Linked DNA regions of Homo sapiens: region 2 is linked to region 1. The links are contacts of gene promoters, found by promoter capture Hi-C in blood cells and fetal thymus (Javierre and others, 2016). All regions are on one chromosome and are shown on one strand. The core of a region is centred on a gene start or on the middle of the fragment in contact, and the rest is flanking DNA. Distances in the headings are between cores, read along the strand shown. Region 1 holds the start of CA2 (carbonic anhydrase 2). Region 2 has its middle 75 kb from the start of PSKH2.

Region 1 (7,547 bases), core at 5,043-7,542:
TGGCAGCTGTTCTGGAACATAAAATACTTAAAATGTATACTTTGCATATTTTTAGTGTAATTGTCCCACTTAATATTTCTTCCAGTTCTGGTTGAAAGTGAAACTAGGTAATGAGCTTGCAATCTATCCACTACTCTTCAAAACTAAATAGATTCTATTACTTATAGAAGAGTTAAGTGTTACTAGTTATTATGAAAAAACAAAGACACATTCAGAAACTAAATTTTTAAAAGTCTGAAAAGCTATTTACTAAGGGAAGTTGAATTCAACTGTTTATTATATGTAAAGTTATTGTTATCCCCTGCTACCCCAAATAGTTAAAAGGAGTTTGGCAGGAAACCCTAAAAATGGCCAGCATTTTGATAGACATTCTATTTTATAGAGGAGTACTGCTCACATAATCTTAATGCATTGCTATTACATCACCACGAGGCAGTTGCCTTCATAAGCTCCTTGAAGGTATTTCGCTGGCCCTCGGGGAGACCACATAGCAGATGGCTAACAGTTCAAACTGTTTGGTTTCATACCTGGCCCCATCACTTCCTAGCTGAGTTACCTGGGGTAATCTGACCTACCTCTATGCCTCAATGACACCAGCTGTAGAGTAGGACTATGTGAAGCATTCAGAACTGTGTTGGTGCGTAATCAGTTTTCAATAAGTGTTAGCTATTTTTATAGATCAGGAACTCAAATAATGTCAATTAAATACATGTGAATTTTCATCCAAGTTAGAGAACTAGGAAAGTCAACCTGTTATTTGACAATGGAAAATATTATATGTAATGACAATCATACCATTTATTCAACAAAGAAAATATGCCAGGATTGTATCTAGCATCTTCCAGACATTCATTCTCATCACGTTGTGGAGCTAGAATTCCCTTCGCCCCGTTCCGCCCAGTCCCCATTTACAAATAAAGCATGTGAAGTTCAGAGGGATTGCTTAGTTTGCTGAAGGTGATGCAGCAAGTAAGTGTTCGAGTCAGAGTATGAACTCAGGTCTGTCTTATTACAAAGTCGATTCCCATTTCACAATTCTATGGTTCTTGACTACAATAACAATAATCCTAATGGAGCAGCTAACAACATACCAGGAATCATGTTCATTCACAGGACCAATTCACACAAACTAGTCCATTTACCACGATCAGCAGCCCTGGGTACTCTTACTACATTTCACCTTTGGAAACTGAGCTTTGAGGAGGTGAAATAAGTATATAAGATCATGTAGTGAAGAAGCCCTCGAAGCTGAATCCAAACTATAAAACCTGGGCTCTTGGCCACTTGTGATGCTGCCTCACATCTTACCAAAGAAGGATATTGAGAGACTCAGAGTCCAAGAGGGAAGCCAGAGACAGGATTAAATGGTTTTATAGTCAGAAGAAGAAGTTTGGATCTTTCTGTAAAGGAAGTTGTCAGATGAATAAAAGCAAGGAGCTAGGCAACAGCGTGTTGTATCTGGGGACTTCTACAAGTCTCCTCATCTATAAAATAAATAGTTGGACCAGGTAACCTCCAAACTTCTTTTAATTCTACAATGATATATTGTTGTGGTTTGTATTATATCCTCCCAGCACATAATATACCTGTGCATAAGCCACTCCCTAGTGGCTTCCCTGCGCAACTAGTATAAAATCCTTTCTTGCTATCATTGTCTGCAAGGCTCTGCAGGCTGTAGCCCCTGACTGTCTCTGACTCCACTACTTGTCTTTTCTTCCTCAGTCACCATGCTTCAGTCACAAGCTTTTCTGTTCTAGAAACTTCCTTTCTCAGGGCCTTTATACTTGCTGTTTCCTCTGCCTGAAATGCCCTCCCCCAGATCTTTTTTTAGTGGTTCCTCAAATGTACTTCCTTCAATAGGTTTTCTATAACCACCGCATCTAAAGTAGGATTTCCTCACTCATTATTCTTTACCTCATTCCTGTTTTACTTTCCTCATACTAATTTTCAGTATTGGAAATTTACTTTTGTTGTTTATTTTGAGTCATTTATTGTACAGTACCCCCATCCATCCCCATGTAAACTCTGTGAGGGCAGGAGTCATGTTGATCTGGTTTATGGCTATAGCCTCTGTGCTGATGCCTGACACATAATAGCATTCAGAATGATTCATTGAGTGAATGGATGATGAGACAAGTTATCTTGTGTAGCTCACCTAGCACATAGAAAATATTAAGCACAAAATAGGAGCTGAGAAACATGTAACGGTAGTAATGATAACTGACATTGATCAAGCTCTAATTATTGGCACTAGGTTAAATCCTTCACACACTGTATCATCTTAGTCCTCACCACAACTCTGTGAGGTAAGTATTATTATTATCCTAGTTTTATAGATGAGGAAACTGAATCTTAGCACAATCAAGAAATTTGCCCAAAGTCACAAAGCTAGTAAATTAACCCAGATTCAAAACCAACCTAATTTCAGCACAATGTTATTTGCTAACTATAATCTGTAACAAAATTATTTACTAACTTCTGCAAAGTGAAACTGCCATTATCTCCATTTGGATTTTTCAAAGTTTATAATTTCAAGGAGTACTATGTGAGTAACTACTATATGTATCTTGGGACTCAGGCTAGGTAAAGGGTACTAGGTGCCTAAGATACAGAGATAAATAATGTGACACAGTACTCAACTTCAGGGGGCACAGTTTAGGAAGAAAAACATAAGCGTGGTAGAATGGACATCTCCATGACCCAAACACTCCTCTGTCCTCTCACAAAAAAAAACAAAACAAAACAAACAAAAAAACACCTCCTGCTGTGGAGACTCATTCCTCTTAAATGTTTCCCATGAACCTGGCCCAGGTGTTTAATTTTGCATTCCTTAAATTATATTCTAACTGTTTAGCACTGTCTAGGAGGGACTGAATAGCCATCATTTACTGAGTGCCTACACGTGACAGGTGATTTATCTATGCTCACTGACTGAATTCTTACAACAATGAGGTGAGTGTCATTATTCCTGCTTTACAAATGAGCAGTCAACAGCTTATTGGGGCATTGGATTATAACCCAATGATTACAATAGAGTGTCTGATTACAATGCAGAATTGCCAATATTAGGATAGAAGGATGTGTATGCAAAGACCTATGGGAGCCCCAAGAAACAAATGGCTCTTGGCCTTCATAGATATTTATTTATTTTTATTTTGTTTGAGACAGTGTCTTCCTGTTTCCCAGTCTGGAGTGCAGTCGCATGATCATGGCTCACTGCAGCCTCAACCTCCTGGGTTCCGATCTGCCGACCTTAGCCTCCTAAGCAGCTGGGACTACAGGGGCACACCACCATGCCTGGCTAACTTCTTATTTTTTGTAAAGATGGGGTTTTGCCATGTTGCCCAGGCTGGTCTTGAGCTCCTGACCTCAAGCGATCCGCCTGCCTTGGCCTCCCAAAGTGCTGGGATTACAGGCGGGAGCCACTGAGTCCAGCCCCAGATATCTACTTAAACACTATAATGGTAACAAATATGAGAATATCTGGCTTTTTATTAGCTTTTTAATTAAATATTTAATAAATAATGTGTATCTCACCTTGTAAAATATTTTAACAATATCTTTACATTTTTTGAGAAAAAGCAAATACTTTCACATTTTTACTAAGAATAATATGTTAGAAGCTTTTTTATTATAATAATTGGAACACAGACTTTAAGTTTTTTTACATTACATTTTCCTGATATACTGCCTGAATTTTTTTTTTTCTGGGGCAAAGAAAAGTACTTTTCTTAAGCTACTGTCAGTTCCTTTACTTAAGATTATTCTGAAATGAACCCATCCTTCCCTCTAATGGAAAGATAGGTACATAATAAGATAAGCACTTTTTTTATTTGAACAAATCCAGTATTAGAGTAGTCTTTTGCAGCTAGTGAATCATGACAGCCTGCTAAGAAGAATGCCTTCAGTAAAATAAAGTTAGGTTGGGACTGACCAACATGAATGCATAAAGTTAACTCCATTAAAAAAAATTGACCAGGAAAATAAAACAATGCTAAGCCAACCACTGTAATACCAAAAACGCTGCTAAAAAATTTAGATTGCTTCTGAGTAACCAAAGGTGAACCACTCTCCACCCTGTGGTGAACATGTGACACTCTCCCTAACAGCAGCTCTGTGGGGAGGGCTTGCTCCCACTGAGAATTAATTCACTTTCCAGAAGTGAGAGATAAGGAAAAATTCCCATGACAATAATCCATTTGGTGAACTGCAGTTTGGTGGTGTTTGAAGTTTTACGCATATTTAAGAATCAAACATGCTCTTACTTCATCCCTGTTAGGAAAGCCACAATCCAGTTTCACGGAAAATGAAAGACAAGGATTCCTGCTGATCAAATCGCCTGGCTCCCTCCACAGAATCCCGGGAAGCCACTCTACATTCACAAACTTTGCACTCAATTCTTGGCACCTATCAACGCCATATCTCCAGGGCCAAGTGAAGAGTCTCATAGCAACTAAGTTAATATTTGAAAATTATGTAAAGAAACAAAATTACATCAATGGGCCCCAACAGATACAATGCACCTACAGAGGCACAAATAAAAGCTTCTTCTTTGCTACAAACTCCATTTTGTAATGGTCCTAAAAATTTAAAAACTTTATTGCTGCTTTCTTGCCTAAGAATTCCCTGTGACATCAACCCAAAACCCACATAAGCAGAAGTACACAATTTTCTAGAATCTTAGAACAAGTAAGTCTAAACATGAATCATATTTGTTTGGATGAAATTGACTGAAATAAATAGTAAAGAGTGATTTTGAGATACATATTGCAAAAATGTCCACTAATAACTTATCCTTGTATTTATCTGTATATTTTCAAAGGTAAGTAATGTGATGTCAAGGCCGACACAATCACATTAAACTGTGTCCTGCTTCCCCAACTGTAACTCTAATACTATTGCCCTCAGAGATTGCAGAGACCACAGAACCGAACTCCTTCCCACAAACCCCCGGATTTTTCTGTGGCAAAATCCCTTGTAGGAAATGAATTCTCTCTATATCTCAAAACAGCCTCACTTACCCAGTAGGCCCTGTAAGCACAGTGTCTCAGGTCCACAATACTTTTAGATGCCCAGGAAAATGTTTCCTTTTAAAATAAGAACAAAAAAGAAAAAAATTAGGTGTTGGTTAAAGAAAATGTTTAAATATATAATATTAAGATATTTATCTTTATGTCAGTGTTGGTATAAATGCGTGTTTATGAAAAAGGGACCCACCAAGGTGAAATGCCGTAGGACCCACAAATGTCATAATGCTGGCTGGCCTCAAAATGTCCTTCCTATTAAACTATTTTGAATGATTCCTAGGTATGCCAGATGCCAATTTTTCTTGGCCAGCCAGGGAACGTCTCATGTCTTTGGAAGAAATTATCTTTCTCTTACTGGATTCTTCTGAGAAAAGTGATTTGTTAAAAGTTTTGGTTATTTCAAATCAATATGTACTCAACTAGGACGTCTCCTCACCCACGTTAATTTTTTAAAGAGGAGGAAAGTAGGAGAAGATGAGCGCTTCATGTAAGGCTCTGCCAGCCTACGAGGAAATGCAATCCTCCAGGCTCGCCCGAGCGTGGGCTGCGGGCAGGGGACTGTGGGGCCGTTGTCTCGTTTTATTCCACGGCCGTGCAGCAGAGGGCGCGTGCCTCTCAGCACTCATGCTGCGCGCTCCCCTGCGCCTCTAGGATCGTATCCCTATTTGCCCCAAGGTCATAGCTCCTAACCCAGCTTGCCAGCCCCAGGCCGGGGACACCAGAGACTGAGCCCTTCGCGCTGGAGACCCCGGCGCGGGTGGGGCGGGAGGGCTCCGGGGCCAAGAGACAGGTCACAATGGGGACAGGGGACGAAAGGCGCCGGGGGTCCGGGTCCCGAGCAGTCCCCGCCGCCGCCAGACTCCGCAGCCGGGAGGGGGATGGGGTGCGCGTAGAGGCTCCGCGGCCCGGGTTGGACGGAGGAGCCCAGGAGCCACCGCAGCCGCCGCACGCCCAGAGCTCCGAGCTTCGCTGCCAGCCCAGGACACCGGGGCCCTGCCGTGGGCCGAGGGGAGCCGGGCGGCGGGAGAGGAGCCCCGGAGCCCCGGAGCCCCGGAGCCCCGCCGGGCGCCAGCCGAGAGGGCGTTTTCCCCGCCCCCGGAGACTCGCCCGCCCGGCCCGCCCCGCCCCGAGCGCGGGGAGTTCACCTCCGCCCGTCACCACCTCCCCTTGTCGCCTAGGTCCACCCGAGCCCCCTCCCCCGGGCCGCCCCCGAGCACGAAGTTGGCGGGAGCCTATAAAAGCTGGTGCCGGCGCGACCCGCGGACACACAGTGCAGGCGCCCAAGCCGCCGCCGCCAGATCGGTGCCGATTCCTGCCCTGCCCCGACCGCCAGCGCGACCATGTCCCATCACTGGGGGTACGGCAAACACAACGGTGAGTGCCGGCGACGGCCAGCGCGGGGGCGCCCCGATCCCCGATCCCCGATCCCCGATCCCCGAGCCCGGATGCCGGCCCGGGGCCCGCAGCGCCCGCACATGCTGTTTACCGCGGCCGCGGGGAGTGCTGGAGGCTCAGGTGCGCCCCGGGCGCTCGCTCCGCTCGCGGCTCCGCGGCGCCGGGGATGTCCCCCTTGCCCCAGCTGCGAGGCCACTGTGGAGGAATCCCCGCGTCCGCCGGAGGCGCGTAGGGCCCGAGGGAGGGGAGGCGCAGCCCTGGCCGCGGGACCCGAGGACAGTCCCTCCCGGGTCCCGACCTGGGGATCATTTTAACCGGACCTAGGAGGAGGCGGGAAAGGGTTGTAACGGAAAATTCTAGTTGTTGATCGCAGAGAAATTAAGAGACTCCCCTCCCCCCTCCCCCACCTTCCACCCCCACCCCACCCCTCCAGCTTCAGCACCACCTGTGGCTAAGGCGCTCAGCACGAACTGTCCCGGGGCATTTTCCAGTGCTGGTTTGAATCCATGGCTCTGATTTCCGAGTTTTCCCTTCATCTCTCGACTTCTAATGTTAGGGGGTCGGACATCAGGAATCGGGTTTTATCTTGGCCTCAGATCTGGTTCTTCGGAGCCAGCGGAGCAGAGGAGCATGCGTCTGGCGCACCTAGCGCATCTTTGGAGGGTGTGGGGCTTCCCAGGTAGTGGGGAACCCTGACGGTTAAAGGTGGGGTGGGCCCGGGCCTGGGCAGTGAGGAAAGGATCCAGACCTCCTTGAATGTCTTAAGTGAGCTTGCATATCCCAAAATCGCAACCACAAGCCCTGACATTAGTGTCTGCCCGATTTCAGTTGCTGAATTTCAGTAAAACGACCTTAAAATAGCTAATATTTATATAGCACTCAGTGATCTAAGAGCTTTACATATATCGATTCTAATTCTTACAGCGACATCTATGAGGTAGATTTCTAATTATCCCATATTACAAATGTGGAAACTGAGGCACAGATTACGTGTTTTCCCAAAATTTAGCCCATTGTTAAGTGATGCTTCTAAAATTGGAACTGAGCAGATTGGCTCCGGAATGATTGCTCTTCTCTAGGGGTCTGGGTGTACCTTTCCCCACAATGGGGGATTCACATGTCTTC
Region 2 (7,547 bases), core at 3,183-5,682, 530 kb after region 1:
AGTAAAATGTTTACAAGTCCTACAGCTATCTACAATGTAACAATAAGGATTAATCATCAAAATACATCTTTTGACCTAGACAGGCTACTTGGCTGTGGCTAAACTAAAAGATTAGTTTGCAGCCCTTTAGAAAGACAAATCCTGAAATTAAGAAAAAAAAAGGGATCAATATTGTTGTTATAATCCAAAACCATTTACCAAATAAATGTATTGCTGTGCTTTTTTGAGTGAAGGCAGCATTGTGGGCTGAACCTGCATGAGGCCCTGTGGACCACTTTAATACCATCATTTTCCTTTCATGGGATTATTTTTGATTCCTGAACAATGCAGTGAGTTTGGCAGAGAAAAGGAAAGAGCCATTATGTGGAAGGAAAAAGCCTGCTATTAAGGAAAAATTGTGAGGCTTTTAACCAAAGTTGCTTCAAGGTTTTCAGAAGGGAGTGCAGTTTCCCACATGCCATTGACTAGTTAAGGGGCCTCTCCACTGAGACCACATGGTAGTGATCTGTGCATCCTGAAAACGCATCAAGGAAACCATTGCAGTGGATTCAATCCAAGAGCTGAGTGGAGTGACCAATTACATCTATGAATGTGCCCTCCCATGCAAATTTGAGAGTTTCAAAGGCCATTCATTCATCAGGTCTTCTCTCTATGACTAGCTTAACCGGAAGCCAATGAGAAAATGGATCTTGCCCTTCCCAGAATAACTGTCCCTCCTTATTTTGGAGGTAGCCTCAGCTCAATACTTCTTTACAGTCAAGAATTCCTTTATTTTTATTTGATGTACATGGGCTTGCCTGGCCTTTCAGAGTCCAAGAAGAAATGTATGGTTTCAGAACCATAACTAATACTCATGTTGTGTATTTTAATGAAATAAATGTCAATATAACAAGTCTACTATACTTGCAGGTATCACATCCTTGATTTATACTTTTCTTTTTAAAAAGGCATATAGTTCTCTTTGAAAATTTTGAAGATACTGTCAAAAAATGAATAGTGTGTGAGTGACTGCATTTAAATGACATCCTGGAAAAAGGCTATAGGAATAAAGCACTTAAGCCCCTGGTTGCCAGGGGTTAAGTGTGGAGAAAGGGGATGGCCATAAACAGGCAGCAGGATAGAATTTGGGAAGTGACGGAGCTGTTTTATATCTTCCTAGTCATAGGACTCTATGCATTTGCCAGAACTCATAGAACTATACTCCCAAAAAAGTGAAGTTTACTGTATGTGGATTTTTTTAAGTGTACCAAGTCATAATAAATTGGTATCTATAAAGGATTGAATTTTGGAAAAAATAAGAATTAAAATGACAGGAATTAAACTCCTGTTTTTCCCATGATATCTGGAGAAATCATTTATGTATTATTATTAAATAATACATGATTATATTATATGTATTATTATTAAATAATACATGATTATATTATATGTATTATTATTAAATAATACATGATTATATTATATGTATTATTATTAAATAATACATGATTATATTATATGTATTATTTATATATGCATACATATTTAAATATGTATGTATATAAAATATATACATATATTTTAATACATATAATAATCTGTATTAAATAATACAGATTAATATATTAATACATATGTATTAAATAATATATTTCATTAAATAATACAAGAATTATTAAAATAATTCTTGATTACCTTCTTAACAATGAATAATATGGATATTATGGCATATAGAAATAACAAAATAAGTGAAACTACAGCCTTATCTAGTGTTCAGAACACCTTCAACATTATTCCTAACCCTCACCAAGCCTTTTCTACCCTTCTCTTATTAACACTCTTCTCAGCTAAAAAGGTTTTAACTAAAAGGATATGTACTTATTTCACCAATAAACACTTGATATTAACCAAAAAGTCATACACCCACCCTATCAGTAAGGACAATAAAGAATAGAGACTAATCAATCATGTTTGTATGTCAGATCCACCATCTTTTGAGTTTCCTTCCTTCCTTCCTTCCTTCCATCCTTCCAAGACGGAGTCTTACTCTGTCATCCAGGCTGAGGTGCAGTGGCACGATCTCGGCTTACTGCAACCTCCGCCTGCTGGGTTCAAGAGATTCTCCTGCCTCAGCTTCCCAAGTAGCTGGGATTACAGGCGAGCACGAGGGGTTTCGCCATGTTAGCCAAGCTGGTCTTGAACTCCTGACCTCAGGTAATCTGCCCTCCTTGGCCTCTCAAAGTGTTGGGATTACCGGCGTGAGCCACCGACCCCAGCCTTTTGAGTTCTTATTAACATCTATGTCTCCAGAAGCTCTTCAGCCTGCTCAAGTGTTAGTAGCCAAAGAAGCTTACCCGTGGGTAGAAACTGCAAATGTGCTAGTTAATTAGGTGATTTGTTTCCATGCCTTGTAAACAGTGCTCATTTGTCCTTCCTCTTGCCTCAGATTTATGCTCTTCAATCCTCTTCCCATTAGAGCCTCTTTCACCCTTTAAACTCAGATAGGATGACCATGACCATGGTCAATTCATTTCCTGCAGGTGATATTGTGTATGTGAGCATGTGTTTATTTAATCATAAAAATGTGGAATGAACTAGTCTGGAATACTTTTCTTAAGTTTTTTTCTGACAGAAGTAGTAGTATTTTAAAACATAAATAAAACTTCTTTTAAGTTTGCAGTTGGTATGTGGAGACAAGCAACATTAACTAAGATCAATTTATGGTGTTATTTCTCAACCAATTAGAAAGAGAATTTTCTAGTTCTAAGACATATTCCTATAGGAATATTCCTTACAGTTCTTCTGTTTAGTCAATAGAAAAAAAACACTTAAAGGTCCTCAAGCTATTATTCTTCCTAGTCTCGATTCATTTGGCAGCCCATTAAAATATAATTTCATGGTGAGATTTATAATAGTATAAATATATCCGTAGTTTTTATATTCTCTAAACTGTGATTTTCCCTTGCACTCTGCCCCTGAAAACTGTTTAAACTCTCTGTGAATACTTAGAAAATTTGTTCTTACATGGGTAAATGACTTCATAAGAGAGAAAACAGCTTGGTTGGAAACAATAGGGTAATTTTGGTTTGGGTTAATAATAAGAGAAACTTAAACTTCTAGAAAATTCAGGTCATTAATGATCCGAAGTATCACTAAAACATACTAGAGACTAATTTGTGTTCCACAAATCTGTATTCTTTCCAACAACTTCAGAGCTGGGATTGTATTTCTCCCTGGCCTCACAATGCGTCACCGTAGCCTTGACTACAACAGAGCCATTGATTCAGAATACAAAGAGAGAATAGGGACTGTCCCTGAACAAGAGATGCCCTGTGACTCTCCTGGACCTGAGCAAATTCAGACTTTACCATAAATTCTATGCTATTTTACATTCAATCTGACAGAGTTCCTTGCAGTAAATAATTCAAGATTCATCAATTTAAAGTACAGATTGTTTACCAAAAATATCAACTTATAAAAACAAGCCTTCGATGAGTTCAGCATATACTCTTTTATGTTGGATGACATGATGACACATTAGGTAACACAGAAAAATATTTTGATATGTATTTAGAAACTAAATAGAGATAAAAAAAAAAGACCCAGAAAATTAGAAACTAGGCATGAATTCCCACCATGTTTCTGAGTTTCATCTATTGGTTTTGCACTAGATTTTTTTTTTTTTTTTTTTTTTTTTTTTTTAGACAGAGTCTCACTCTGTCGCCCAGGCTGGAGTGCAGTGGCGCAATCTCAGCTCACTGCAAGTTGCACCTCCCGGGTTCATGCCATTCTCCTGCCTTAGCCTCCTGAGTAGGTGGGACTACAGGTGCCCGCCACCATGCCCGACTAATTTTTTGTATTTTTAGTAGAGATGGGGTTCACTGTGTTAGCCAGGATGGTCTCGATCTCCTGACCTTGTGATCCACCTGCCTCAGCCTCCCAAAGTGCTGGGATTACAGGCATGAGCCACCGCGCCCGGCTGTACTAGATTCTTTCATATTTATGGATTTCTAGGATCTGGAATTGAAAATCATTAAATACCATATTTTATTCTGAAATAAATATTAATGATCTTTTCAACAATATTATTACATCAAAAAGAATTTCTGATGTATACAGATATGCTAAGATAAATGTATATTGGTGTCTGCTCACTGTAAAATTCTTCATCTCTTTTTCAAACACCAATAGCCAGAAGTTGAGCTTGATGTCTTCATGTCATTTTATAAACCACTGTGATTATTATCTTTTATCATTACTAAATCTCCATTTTAGTAAAATCCGAATTCTCTGCCCTTCAAAAAGAAAAATGTTATACACGGAGCAGAAATCATTATATTACTGGCTAGAGCCTTAATAGTCTGGTTTCAGAAAAACAGACCAAGATGAATGCAGAACTCAGTAAAAGATTGGCTTGCACTTTCAATGACTCCTCATCACCCCTAGACAAAGGCTAAATGCTTGGGCATGGCGTTCAAGTACACCAGCAATTTGCACCCTGCTCCTTCAGCACATTCACTCCCACCAAGTGCTTTTAAATATAAAACACCCCAGATTGCTCATTTTTTTAAAATCCAACATTCACTCACTAAAAAAATAGTTGTTATGATGTCTTTAATATGTGTCAGGCACTTTTTCAGTACTAGAAATACATCAGTGAACAAAACAGGAAAAAAATGCCTGCTACTGTGAACCTTGATTTTTTTTTTTTTAAGACAGAGTTTCACTCTTGTTGCCCAGGCTGGAGTGCAATGGTGATCTCAGCTCACCACAACCTCCGCCTCCTGGGCTCAAGCAATTCTCCTGCTTCAGCCTCCCGAGTAGCTGGGATTACAGGCATGCACTATCACGCCCAGCTAATTTTGTATTTTTAGTAGAGACGGGGTTTCATCATGTTGGCTAGGATAGTCTCGATCTCTTGACCTCGTGATCCACCTGCCTTGGCCTCCCAAAGTGCTGGGATTATAGGCGTAAGCCACTGTGCCCGGCCGAAACTTACATTTTAATGGAGGAGAGAGAGAAAGAGAGAACAAGTAAATAAATGATTATAACATTCTTTTCAATCAGCACTTTTCTCTTAAAGCTATTTTTAAAAGATAATTATCCCCCAAATTCATAACTTTTATGTTTATATAAAATGAACACATTACAGATTTTATTCATTTAACTCAATCAATGAGGATACCAGGTAGGTGTCATTGCCATTTGAAAAGAGAATCTAAAGAACAGACTCATTTATAAATCAGGAGTATTTAAATGAATGTGAAAATAGAGGCAAACCTGATTTTTCCAAAAGGGTTGAGAGGTAGGGAAGTCAACTGAATCTTTACCAGAAAAATTGAATTTGCATATCTATGGACAAAATTTATTTGCATTTTAGCGGGTTGAATAATAGAAGCCCAATAACAGATGTCCACATCTTAATTCCTAGACCCTGTGAATGTTAACTCATTTGGAAAAATGCTTTTTGAAGCTGTAATTAGGTTAAGGATTTTAATTTGAAGAGATCATCCTCTATTACCAAGCTGAGGTCTGAATCCAATGACAAATATTTTTATAAGACACCCACAGTGGAGATTTGGCAGCAGACGTGGGGAAGGCAATGTGATCACAGAAGCAGGTGTTGGAGAGGTGCAGCCACAAGCCAAGGAATGCCTGGAGCCACCAGAAGCTGGAAGAGGCAAGAAATGGAAGCTCCCTTAGAGTCTTCAGAGGAAGTGGAGCTCTGATGACACCTTGATTTCAAACTTCTGGCTCCAGAACTATGACAGAATCAATTTCTATTGTTTTATGCCACAAAGTTACAGCAGCCTGTGGAAGCTAGCACACATTGCTATCAGTTACCCACAACTTACAGAACTGTAAAATAGCTCTCATAGAATCAGGTAGCCAGGAGGGGTAATCTGTAGATAATGTGTAGTTTCCATTGATGCACAATTTCCCCCTATGTACCTTAATAGCTTTTCCCAGACCTTCTCTACCTGTCAGAACTCTATGTATCCTTTAAAGCTAACTTCAAATGCCAGCAATGGCTGGTTGACTGAATGATGGACAGAGACAGGGTCTCACTCTCTTGCCCAGGCTGGAGTGTGGTGGCATGATCGTAGCTCCCTGAAGGCTTGAACCCCTGTGCTTAACTGATCCTCCCATTTCAACATCCCAAAACACACCTGGCTAATATATATATATATATGTATTTTAGAGAAAGGGTCTCACTATAATGCCCAAGCTGGTATTGAACTCCTAGCCTCAAATAATTCTCCTGTGTTGGCCTCCCAAACTGCTGGAATTACAGGTGTGAACTACCATGTCCAGCTTATTTATTAATTTCTATTACATATATATTGGTGCCTCCAACTAGGATGGAACGCCTTGTCAATAACTCCTTTTGGCATTTATGGCACACCCTCTACATGTGCTTCCCAGGATGCTGTAGTAACCTAGCAGGGCACCATACACATAGGAAGTACTCATGGAGTTGAGCTGGAGAGAGCTGTGACCTATGATGACCAAGGGGAAAACTGGATGACTTCTGGTAATAACTGAACTTTCTTTCTCCAAGCTTGGCATGCTGAAGCTTAGTGTTATAAAATGGATCTCATATCCAAAGATTCTGGTTCCATAAAAGTATTTGCCCCACATCTAGCTAAAGGTTAAAAAAAAATCAACATCTAAGATAGGATGTTAGAAGGGTGACTTAAGAATAACTTTCTCTGTATCTTTCTGAGGATTCATTGGCAGCAAACTAATGGGCCTTGCACTCATGATTTTTTTCCTTCCAACACGCATGCCAAGTGTTTTATATATGACTAGAGTCTTTAAAAAGGCCTCTGGAATCTTAATTCAAACTTGCTGTAGTTCACATATTTGCTCAAGCCTGGATTTCTAAGGGTCTACATCCATTCCAAGCATCAGTTCTTTAACAGTGTCAGTCCCATTGTCATAAATAAATCAATTAATTCTAATGGAAAAGGTGTGATTAATTTAAAATGTAACTATATGCTAAACTAGAGCTCAGGTAAGATTGGCTGAGCTCCTGAAAAGTGACAATAGCATCTTCTAGTTTCCATTTCTGGGTTCCACTTTGGATGCCAATTCTATTACAAGAATTTTAACATCAAGATCTTATCTGCCCATCATCTTTGCTGCACTTTCAGCTTCTCTACAACTCTGGGGTTTCTGGGAACTGCTGAGGATGTCTACATGCATCTTCAAATCATTTTGGAGCTGGGCTCACCTCTCATCACTAGTGATCAGTGCTTGGCTCTGCTGAGCTACCACAGTCTTATCAATGCTTCATTCCAGGCTGCCACTTGCCTATGCTGCCATTTTTGCTCAATGCTCAGCTCTGAGCCAAAGTTTGTCTGCTGCAATATGGTGGCTTATGCTGTCACTGCAGAGCCATCTAAACTTGTGGTTCCAGAACTACTTAGAAATTAGTTGCAAATGAAAAGCTGAAAGCCTTTCTCTCCTCCATTGCATCTATAAAAAAAAGAGTCCCACAACAGGACTCTGAGGAGCCACAGAATTACACTCAAATCTTTCATTCCATAGACACCTCTCCACCA

Evidence for each region. Contacts are between HindIII fragments. The CHiCAGO score rates a contact against its expected background, and 5 or more counts as called.
Region 2: a contact is called between a fragment that was not itself captured here and the fragment with the promoter of CA2 in region 1, in 17 of 17 cell types (endothelial precursors, megakaryocytes, neutrophils and 14 more). The highest score is 25.5, in endothelial precursors.

The regions. Positions count from the first base shown.
Region 1 is chr8:85,457,715-85,465,261 of GRCh38, forward strand. It overlaps CA2 (carbonic anhydrase 2), which reads left to right and starts at 6,293. Exons shown (of 7, transcript NM_000067.3): 1 at 6,293-6,401. The coding sequence starts at 6,368. CA3-AS1 (CA3 antisense RNA 1) reads right to left here and starts at 7,201. Exons shown (of 3, transcript NR_121630.1): 1 at 6,868-7,201; 2 at 5,022-5,087. RefSeq lists enhancers at 3,806-4,501, 6,402-6,901 and silencers at 5,529-5,788, 5,859-6,178, 6,289-6,758. The HindIII fragment of the contact is 7,146 bases long and covers 4,543-7,547 here.
Region 2 is chr8:85,990,953-85,998,499 of GRCh38, forward strand. No RefSeq gene overlaps it. Among named protein-coding and RNA genes, the nearest start is that of PSKH2, 75 kb to the right of the region's middle. The HindIII fragment of the contact is 4,213 bases long and covers 2,327-6,539 here.